3 separate regions of the Homo sapiens genome follow, and all the other regions are linked to region 3. The links are contacts of gene promoters, found by promoter capture Hi-C in blood cells and fetal thymus (Javierre and others, 2016). All regions are on one chromosome and are shown on one strand. Each heading gives the region's core, a stretch centred on a gene start or on the middle of the fragment in contact. The rest is flanking DNA. Distances are from core to core; before and after follow the strand shown.

Region 1 (3,579 bases), core at 885-3,384, 1.4 Mb before region 3:
ATTACATGTTCTCCCTCACTGAAGAAACACAACGCATCTCAGAAGGGATACAGATACTGGCATACCTTGTTTAAAAACAGCAGCCACAGTCTGTTAATTCTATCTGCTTCCCATGAGAAAGAAAAATCATCCCATGGCAGTTTAATTGGCCTTCACCCACATGTAGGGGGTTTATGAACATGTAGTCCCTTTGGGAAAATATCTAAAGAAAAATTCTTCAGAGTTGAATATGACTATGAGAGGGCTGGATAAAGTAAGTAGCAGTTTTTAAACAGGGTCCTAACTTTTTTTATACTCTTCATGGAGAGGTGGAGGAGGAAGTGTCTATGGCCACACCTCTTGACTATGGGCAGGCTTGTGACTGTTTCAACCAACAGACCACTGTGGACATGATAATGAAGCTTGGCAATCCAGCCTTGTGCACTAGAACACTCATGCTTGGAACCCTGAACCACCTGGTAAAAAGTCTGACTACCCTGAGATCACTAGCTGTAAGGAAACCAAATCACATAAGGCAGCCAGGTGTGAGTGTTCCCATCAGCAATTCTAGTCTTTAAGCCAGCCCGGCTTAAGAGATGAGACCTGACACCACAAGAAGCAGGGATTATTCCTTCCGTGTCTGATGTGAATTTCCCCAAAATTCATGAACATAAGAAATGGTTGTTTCAAGATGCTTAATTTGGGCCAATTTGCTATGTAGCAATAGTAACTGCAACAGAGTATGAGAGTCAAAGATATTTGTATCAATATGAATTGAGATTAATTATCCAAAATATTTCAATCATCTACAGAATAGATGTTTGAAAGTTCACAATACTCTGGAATAAAATATTTTCTACATAATGTAAAGCAAAGCATTATTTGCAAACATGTAAATACATGTTGTCCCATGAGAGGTTTTCCATTATAACTTCAGAGTAATTAAACATACAAAGACCAATCCCTTGCTAATCTTTCTGTTCAAATTGCTTAATTATGAGAGCTTCTGTGTTCATTGTAAGACAGAAAGATAAGGTTAATAAATCTTGTCCTTTGAACTCTCATTTCAAATTTTATCCCTGAGTGCAGATGTTGTTAAAATGTTTTCTCAAGCTTCTCAGTAACAGAGTTGGTTAGTACTTTTCTGGTGAGGATATTATTTCATGTCTGTATGTTCTAAAGTTCTAGCAGTGTAACATTATTGCTGATTTTAAAGACTGATACACCCCGTCTGGGAAGTGAGGAGCGCTTCTACCCGGCTGCCCCGTCTGGGAAATGAGGAGCGCTTCTGCCCGGCTGCCCCGTCTCGTAAGTGAGGAGCGCCTCTGCCCGGCCGCCCATCATCTGGGATGTGAGGAATGCCTCTGCCCGGCCTCCCCATCTGGGAGGTGAGGAGCACCTCTGCCTGGCCGCCCATCATCTGGGATGTGAGGAGCACCTCTGCCTGGCTGCCCTTCGTCTGGGAGGTGAGGAGCGCCTCTGCCCGGCCGCCCCGTCTAGGAAGCGAGCGCCTCTGCCCGGCCGCCCTTTGGGAGGTGAGGAGCGTCTCTGCCCAGCCACCCCATCTAGGAAGCGAGCGCCTCTGCCCGGCCACCCTTCGTCTGGGAGGTGAGGAGCGTCTCTGCCCAGCCACCCCATCTGGGAGCTGAGGAGCACCTCTGCCCGGCCGCCCATCATCTGGGAAGTGAGGAGCGCCTCTGCCCAGCCGCCCATCGTCTGGGAGGTAAGGAGAGCCTCTGCCCAGCCGCCCCGTCTAGGAAGCGAGCGCCTCTGCCCGGCCGCCCTTTGTCTGGGAGGTGAGGAGCGTCTCTGCCCAGCCACCCCATCTAGGAAGCGAGTGCCTCTGCCCGGCCACCCTTCGTCTGGGAGGTGAGGAGCGTCTCTGCCCAGCCACCCCATCTGGGAGCTGAGGAGCACCTCTGCCCGGCTGCCCATCATCTGGGAAGTGAGGAGCGCCTCTGCCCGGCCGCCCATCGTCTGGGATGTGAGGAGCACCTCTGCCTGGCCGCCCATCATCTGGGAAGTGAGGAGCGCCTCTGCCCGGCCGCCGATCATCTGGGATGTGAGGAGCGCCTCTGCCTGGCCGCCCCGTCTGGGAGGTGAGGAGCGCCTCTGCCCGGCCACCCATCATCTGGGATGTGAGGAGCGCCTCTGCCCAGCCGCCCTTCTTCTGGGAGGTGAGGAGCGCCTCTGCCCAGCCGCCCCATCTAGGAAGCGAGCACCTCTGCCCAGCCGCCCCATCTGTGAGGTGAGGAGCGCCTCTGCCCTGCTGCCCCGTCTGGGAGGTGAGGAGCGCCTCTGCCCGGCCGCCCATCATCTGGGAAGTGAGGAGCACCTCTGCCCGGCCACCCCGTCTGGGAAGTGAGGAGCGCCTCTGCCCGGCCGCCCCGTCTGGGAAGTGAGGAGTGTCTCTGCCCAGCCGCCCCGTATGGGATGTGAGGAGCGCCTCTGTCCGGCCGCCCCGTCTGGGAAGTGAGGAGCACCTTTGCCCAGCCACCCCGTCTGTGAGGTGTACCCAACAGCTCTGAAGAGACAGCGACCATCAAGAAAGGGCCATGATGACGATGGCGGTTTTGTCGAAAAGAAAAGGAGGAAATGTAGGGAAAAGAAGGAGAGATGAGATTTTTACTGTGTCTGTGTAGAAAGAAGTAGACATAGGTGACTCCATTTTGTTCAGTACTAAGAAAAATTCTTCTGCCTTGGGACACTGTTAATCTATAACCTTACCCCCAACCCTGTGCTCTCTGAAACATGTGCTGTGTCAACTCAGGGTTAAATGGATTAAGGGCGGTGCAAGATGTGCTTTGTTAAACAGATGCTTGAAGGCAGCATGCTCGTTAAGAGTCATCACCACTCCCTAATCTCAAGTACCCAGGGACACAAACACTGCGGAAGGCCACAAGGACCTCTGCCTAGGAAAACCAGAGACCTTTGTTCACGTGTTTATCTGCTGACCTTCTCTCCACTATTATCCTATGACCCTGCCACAACCCCCTCTCTGAGAAACACCCAAGAATGATCAATAAATACAAAAAAAAAAAGACTGATACAATCATTCGTTTGTATTTTAAAACTACAAAAATTAAATTAACCCCCAACAATGCTCCTGGTTCCCCCTCCCCATTAAAATGCTGTATATAGTAAGGATAATAAAGTCCTATACATATATAAAACTGTCCTTGGAATAAACAAGCTTCATGTTTCTACCATCCTGGGATCCAGGTTTCCAACTACTTTATGGTTCACTTATAAACTTAAAGAACCACCACCTTGGAAGGTAGAATTTTTTGAAAAAGAGAACAAGATCGAATAACGGTGCTTCTGTGATTTGTAGAGGTCAGGGAAGAAATATAGCATTATACAGATATGGGAATAATTTGTCCTAACATAAATGTTTAGATTGAAGATCACAGAGAGTATCATCTTTTGTCTCCACTATCCAACTACAAAATGTCACTAAAGTGAACAATTATTTTTAAATTATGGAATACACAGCAGTTTATTTTCTTTCAGTATAGGCAGCTGAAACATAAATCAAACTTCAGGAATACCTTCAAATACTTTATCAAAATATATGTTCCAATCAATTTCTGCAAGTTA
Region 2 (3,714 bases), core at 191-2,690, 1.5 Mb after region 3:
GTTTCACCATCTTAGCCAGGTTGGTCTTGAACTCCTGACCTTGTAATCCACCTGCCTTGGCCTCTCAAAGTGCTGGGATTGCGGGCGTGAGCCACTGCACCCAGCCAAAACTAGAGAATCTTAATGAATCCACGACTTCAGTGCCAACAATTATTTTTTCAGTCCTAGTTTTTTCTTAAAGTCAATTGCAGCTGTCACATTTCATTTCTAAATGTATAAGCAAGAATCTCTAAAGGCAATTTTCTATATAACCATCATGTCTTTATCATACCTAATCCTTAATACCATCTGATAATCCAGTCTGTAATCAGATTTTCCCATTTTTCTGAAAAGTGTCTTTCACAACTAGCCTGTTCAAACTATAGAAAGTGTCAACATCTTTTGATCTAGCTCTAGAACATTGCTCCCCTCCACTCCCTGCTTTTCCTCATGGTAATGTAAAGTCATGGAAAAGACCAGGCCATTTGTTCTCTAATAAGTCCAACTTTCTGAATTTGTGTGACTCTTTATGCTATCATTTCATTTGATTCTCTCTTACCTTTATTTCCTGTAACTCGAAAGTTATATCTGAAAGCTTGATTCAATTCAAGTATTTTTGGCTTGAATATTATAGTTGTAATATTTCATACTGTCACAGAGACAAGTAATTCAGAGGATTCTTTTTTAGCAACATCAGTTGCTTGGCAGCTGTTCACTACTTTTTATTTTTAAGATTCGTAAAATCTCTTCACAGTCAGAGTCCATGGGGATCATCATATCCTTTAGATAACAACAGTTCTTTTCTGGGGAAGTATAGCTGACTTGAATCATTTGGGCATTTAAGTCAGATTGTATTTTTGTAAGCATAGTTAAATGTGAAATTAACTCTTGCTTTCTTGATACTCTCCCTTTCACCCATCACTGTATTACACCAGACTTTCTGTGTTGGCTAATAATTGTGAATGGGCTTGAGCTATTTCATTTGGAAACTTAAAAAGTAGGAATTTCTTATATTTTTAACAAAATATGTGTAAAATGTGGGTCACTTTTGGAATGTATTATTATTATTATTATTATTATTTTTGAGACGGAGTCTCGCTCTGTCACCTAGGCTGGAGTGCAGTGGCGCGATCTCGGCTCACTGCAAGCTCCGCCTCCCAGGTTCACGCCATTCTCCTGCCTCAGCCTCCCAGGTAGCTGGGACTACAGGCGCCCGCCAACACGCCCAGCTAAGTTTTTGTATTTTTAGTATAGACGGGGTTTCACCGTGTTAGCCAGGATGGTCTTGATCTCCTGACCTCGTGATCCGCCCGCCTCGGCCTCCCAAAGTGCTGGGATTACAGGCATGAGCCACCGCGCCTGGCCTGGAATGTATTATTTTTAACAAGGACTATTTCATTATTTTCTAACTAGGACATGGGTATTTAATAAGTAATTTGCTCTAAAAATTTAGATATTATCGGTTTGATTAAAATAGTGAGGATTGCCAGGTGCAGGGCTCATGCCTGTAATCTGTAATCCCAGTACTTCGGAAGGCTGAGGTGGGTGGATTGCTTGAGCTTGGGAGTTCAAGACCAGCCTGGGCAACATGGCAAATCCCCATCTCTACAAAAAATACAAAAATTAGCCAAACATGGTTGTGCATGCCTGTGGTCTCAGCTACTCGGGAGGCTGAGGTGGGAGGATCACTTGAGCCCAGGGGGCAGAGGTTGCAGTGAGCAGAGATCACACCACAGCAACGGGCAACAGAATGAGACCCTGACTGAACAACAAAAAAATAGGATCACCCAAAGTGTACAAACGTATTCATGTTAAACAGAATTGTTGCCTATTCATTCAGTTTTTATTGGTGTAATTTGAAAAGATTACTCCCAACTTTTGAGCATTCTTTAAGAATTTGGGGAAAATACTTATCAATATGAAATAAACTAACAGAACAAAATGTTAGCTTGAACTTGGAGCGCTCAGAAAACAAGACTATAAAGAAATTAAGTTGGTCTGTTTGTATGTAGAAATAAAAATAAAGAATTTTTGGTTCACTTAAACACATGGGCAGTTTGTCAACTCAGATGGTTTAGCTGTTTTCATTAAATAATGTTCAATGTCTTATCAAAAAAAGAATTGAGTGGTTCAGCTTCTGAATTCATTGTCTCATATGTGTTTGATGGAGCTTTTCTGCAACTCTTTATCTTAAAATTTAATTCTCTTTAATTTTCAGATAAATTTTTAATTATACCTTTACATTCACTGATGCCTACAGTTAACCAGACACAGGTATGTTAAATGGATACATTTGTTAAATGTATTTCAAACTGAGGCAAGCTTTAAGGACTGCTTGTTACGTGTTTTCCTTTATTTTTTTTAAGGAGTATTTTCAAATAGTAATTCATGTAAAAAAATACTTCTTTGAGAACCTTTGCAAATGAGTCTTCAGGGGATGATTGCTCAAAAACTTGAATATCAGCGGATAACCCACAAATCAGATTAGTTTTGTCTACATTAGGAAAAAGTTTAAAGAATTGGTTTCACCAGTAACTTCGTTGAGTTTCCTGAGTAAGAGAAAAAGGTCTGTGAGTACTACTAAAAGTAACCAAACCTAGAAATTAATGATCTGTGACATACTACAGTTTGATGATGATTTGAGATTTAATTTCACAAAGCTAGTATATTCACAGGTATAAAATTTCTGTTTTAATAATGTATTATGAATGTTTGGCTCCATCAGATACAGGCGCTTTCCTAATTAGAGTGAACACTACATTCTCAGAGGCAGGATAATGTTATGATCTACAGTATTTGCAGGCTCTTGCAAAATGAAATTGATTAGAAAACCTGCTCCTCCCCCCATTTCTAGTTTATCCTTTTCTCTTTTTATAAGAAAATATCAAGATACTTTTCTTTGAGACCCTTTTAATATTTTTGTTGCTGGTACCTTAGTCATGAATTAGATACAGAGTACATACCTGAGAGAAGAGAGGGGGCAAGAAAGAAAACTCTTGATTCCAAAGACTGAAAGAGTATCCAGCATGGAAGTATTCATCTTCCACACCATAACCTAGTAAATTATGTATTCCTTTGCTGGAGAGTATGTGAATAGCCTGGGAAACATTTTCTGTATTGACTACCAGTTTTGTAAATGAAGGGATAAGTTTTTGCTTTTTGTTTGTTTGCATTATCGCCAGTGGTACTTGATTACCTATCTTCTTTCTACTTTAGTGACATTGTCGGGTTGTGGGGCAGTATTTGTAGAATTCTCCATTTAAAGAGGATTTTTTTTTTTCACTCCAATCTGATCTCAAGCTAGTAGACAGTGGTTGGTACAGCTGCACAGTTGACATTTGTTCTGCTGGGTTGGGCATCTGCCTGATTATTCAGTGTTCTTACCCATGGAGACTTGACTTCATTATTCTTGTCCTAACAGAAATATCCCTCCCTCTACTTTATAACCTCCAGCTTTTGTTAAAAAACTGCTGTAAATTTAAATAATGATACCTCATTGGAAATCTTGTTTGTGATAAGATTGTGACATCTGTGGGAGATTTAATGTGGTTTACCAAAAGATAATTTTGTAATATTGAAAATGATCTGTACTTCATAAATACATCGATAAATATTAGATGTATATGTCAGTGAATGAACATAGAATGCTAAAAATGAACAGTATCTGAGGTAATTCCTCTAATTACAAATATAATGTATTAGAAGTTAGTGTACTTTTGTGATTCTGATGTATTT
Region 3 (3,439 bases), core at 30-2,529:
CGGCTGTTATTTACTTTCTATTGGCTATAACACAGAGACAATACACTCCTTGAAGCCACCACTCATAATATGTATTGTTAGGAATACAACATAGTCTGTTTTGACTTTTAAAGGTAATATTTGCATAAAGTAAAAAAAAAAAAAAAACTCCAGTAGTATAATTGCACTCTCCAATATAATAGCCACTAGCCATATGTGACTAAATTAATTAAAATTAATAAAGTTAAAAATTCAGTTCCTTGATTTCAGTAGCCACATTTCATGCAGGCAATACCCACATGAAGCTACAGGACATTTCTATCACTGAAAAATGTTTATTAGAGGTGGCAGATTGTGAAACCTCTTGCCCTTTCCTACCTTCCGTTTCCCGGGGTAGTCACTGTTACTAGTTTCTTGTATAGTATTTAGTATTTATTTATTTTTTTAGATGGAGTCTTGCTCTGTTACCCAGGCTGGAGTGTAGTGGCACGATCTTGGCTCACTGCAACCTCCGCTTCCCAGGTTCAAGCGATTCTCCTGCCTCAGCCTCTTGAGTAGCTGGGATTATAGGCGCATACCACCAGGTTCAGCTAATTTTTGTATTTTCAGTAGAGACGGAATTTCGCCATGTGGGCCAGGCTGGTCTCGAACCCCTGACCTCAAGTAATCCGCCCGCCTCGGCCTCCCAAAGTGTTGGTATTACAGGCAGGAGCCACCACACCCGGCCTCAATATATATTTTTATTACATAAATGTTACCATATTATTTGCACTGCTCTGTATCTAATTTTTGTTTTATTTAAAATGTATTAACTACTGTTTTCTAACAGCTCAAAGATTTAGAGCATGTGATATTAGGCTTTCAGAGCAGCTCTTAAAACTTTAAAGCACAATTTGAATATAAGAAATATGCATAGGTTTCAAGGACAGGTCGTATTTGGTTAAAAAATATGCATATGCTGTTCCTTGGGAGCAGGTGGAAGGAATGAATTACTTCAATTTCCTTCCTTGTGTGGCACCTGCGAAAACCACGTTGCAGCTGAGTGAATTGAAGTCACCAGCTGACAATCATCCTACTAGCTTGATAGGGAATGCTTCAGCCCCCACAGTGCTGCTCAGAGATCTCCTGCATCGTGGAATCACCCTGCATAAAAGCGGTTGGGGCACTGTTAAGACGTCTGATATCTGGGGCCCGCCCACTGGCGACTGCAGGTCGCGGGGCCACCCCGGTCCGCGGGGAAGGGGACCCCGCCGCCTTCCCGAGGTGAGCGGCGCCCCCTGCCGCCAGCCGGAGGAGCTCAGGGCCGCTCGCAGGAGGCCGGGAACATGGCGGGGCAGCCCGCGGCCACCGGCTCGCCGTCTGCCGACAAGGACGGAATGGAGCCCAACGTCGTGGCTCGGATCTCGCAGTGGGCAGACGACCACCTGCGCCTAGTCCGGGTACTGGGGCCACGCAGTCTGGGCGGGTGGTGGGCGCGGGGCGGCACAGAGCGACCCTGAGAACAACGTGAGGCCTCAGGCGTGGATCCCGCCGGGGCCGGGGAGCGACAGAAAACTGCGGGGGAATGAGCTCGAGAGGGCGACATCGCGAGTGTCGTGTGTGCGGGGCTGCAGAGGGCCGGGGGCGGGCCAGGGGGCCAGTTCGGCCTCATTATTACAAGGACTGTTCTGGATCCTTGCTGGGCTGTAGGGGGCACCTCAAAGGGTGAGACGCAGCCCAGCTCGGGGATGCCACCTGGTCCATTAGAGCATTTGGGGAGGGCCCAGAGAGGAGACCGAGGAAGAGCAGGGAAGTCCTGTACGCCTTGGGAGAGAGCATTTCTAATTTTTATTTATTTTTAATTTTATTTTTTAGGGACACGGTATTCCTCTCTGGCCCAAGCTGGAGTGCAGTGGCACGATCATAGCTCACTGCTGCTGCTCCACCCACTTCGGCCGAAAAGATCCTCCCACTTCAGCCTCCCGAGTAGCTGGAACCACAGGTTGCGTGCGCTACCCCATCGACTACTTTCTTTTAGAGTTAGAGACTGGGAGTCTTGCTATGTTGTCCAGGCTGTCCTCCAACTCCTGGCCTCAAGTGATCTCCCACCTCAGCCTCCCGAATAGATTTCTTTTTTTTGAGACAGGGTCTCCCTCTGTCACGCCTGGAGTGCAGTGGCACCATTATGTCTCGTTGCAGTCTCCACTTCCTGGGCTTAAGCAATCCTCCCACCTCAGGCTCCCGAGTAGCTAGGGCTACAGGCACTTGTCACCACACCAGGCTAATTTGTTTTTTGTTTGTAGAGGCAAGGTCTTCCTGTGTTGCCCAGGCTGGCCTTGAACTCCTGGTCTCAAGAGATCTGCCCGCCTCGGCCTCCCAAAGCACTGGGATTGTAGGCATCAGCCACTGGTGCCCTGCCTTTTTTTTTTTTTTTTTTTTTAAGTGAAGCACTAAGCCTCTGGAGTTGAAGCAAGAGAGGGACATGTTAGGCCACCAGGCAAGAGAGGGTTGTGGCTAAGACACAGAATTGTGGTGATATGAATTGTTTGGGTGTGAGGTACAAAGAAAGAGGTCCAAGGAGGCTGGTAATAGTTGCTGATAAGGAGAAGGAGTTGGAATAAATGATTTATTGGGGAAAATCTAGAGAACTTTTTGGACACGTACATGGAGATGTGCAAATTTGGAGATCATTATTAGACTTCTAAGCAGAATTGTAGATGCTGTCCTTGGCAACTGGATATGGGGTCCGGTGTTGAAGGGAGATCAGAACCTGACATAGAACATTGGGAATGACCTGCATAAACCTTAAGTAGCATTTAAAGCCGTGGGCTTGAATAACATCTCAGAGCAAGTGAGAAAAGCTACTGAAGAAGCCCTAGAATTTGGGGGATTATAACATTGAGAATCTGGGGAGTAAAGAGGAGGTCAGCAAAGACTAAGAAGAAGCAGACAGTGAGGTAGTAAAAAAGTCAAGACAGCCAGGTGTTCTAGAAGCCAAGTGAAGAAAATGTTTTCAGAAGGAATCATTAACTTTAAAAAATAATACTGGAAAGTTGAGTAAGATAACTTTGCAAATGCTCTACAGCCAAGCAGCACAAAGTCCAAAGCCATGCCTGTTTTCACTCATCATTGTAGCCCCAGTTCTTAGAGTAATGCCTGCTACTTAGTAAGTGCTAGATAAATATTTGTAGCATCATTGAATGGTAAATAATATATGTGTTAATTGGTGAAAACTCATTTCTTCCAGTTAAGCAGTAATAGATGCATGGGTTATTTCAAATTAAAAAATGACTTCAGAAGGATTATGGGAGGAAGTTGTGTAAATTAGAACATAGTTATAATATTACAAATAATCCAATCACAGAACCCAGAGTATGTACCTTTGTGCATATTTTCAATCTCATTTCCTTTTTCTTTTTTTTTAGACCAAGTCTTGCACTTGTCCCCCAGGCTGGAGTGCAATGGTGTGATCTCGGCTCAC

The links. The method cuts DNA at HindIII sites, captures the fragments that hold promoters and counts their contacts. A CHiCAGO score of 5 or more calls a contact.
Region 1: a fragment that was not itself captured here is called in contact with the fragment with the promoter of C3orf33 in region 3 in 1 of 17 cell types (total CD4 T cells); the score reaches 6.7 in total CD4 T cells.
Region 2: a contact is called between a fragment that was not itself captured here and the fragment with the promoter of C3orf33 in region 3, in 2 of 17 cell types (activated CD4 T cells and total CD4 T cells). The highest score is 5.7, in activated CD4 T cells.

What each region holds. Positions count from the first base shown.
Region 1 is chr3:157,177,382-157,180,960 of GRCh38, reverse strand. The region is part of intron 2 of LOC101928236 (a long non-coding RNA gene); the gene reads right to left. Among named protein-coding and RNA genes, the nearest start is that of CCNL1, 19 kb to the right of the region's middle. RefSeq lists an enhancer at 2,577-3,078. The HindIII fragment of the contact is 2,080 bases long and covers 1,095-3,174 here.
Region 2 is chr3:154,293,823-154,297,536 of GRCh38, reverse strand. It overlaps DHX36 (DEAH-box helicase 36), which reads left to right. Exons shown (of 25, transcript NM_020865.3): 13 at 2,198-2,253. Among named protein-coding and RNA genes, the nearest start is that of DHX36, 29 kb to the left of the region's middle. The HindIII fragment of the contact is 1,727 bases long and covers 577-2,303 here.
Region 3 is chr3:155,804,118-155,807,556 of GRCh38, reverse strand. C3orf33 (chromosome 3 open reading frame 33) reads left to right here and starts at 1,279. Exons shown (of 5, transcript NM_001308229.2): 1 at 1,279-1,418. The coding sequence starts at 1,305. RefSeq lists a silencer at 995-1,344. The HindIII fragment of the contact is 11,000 bases long and covers 1-3,439 here.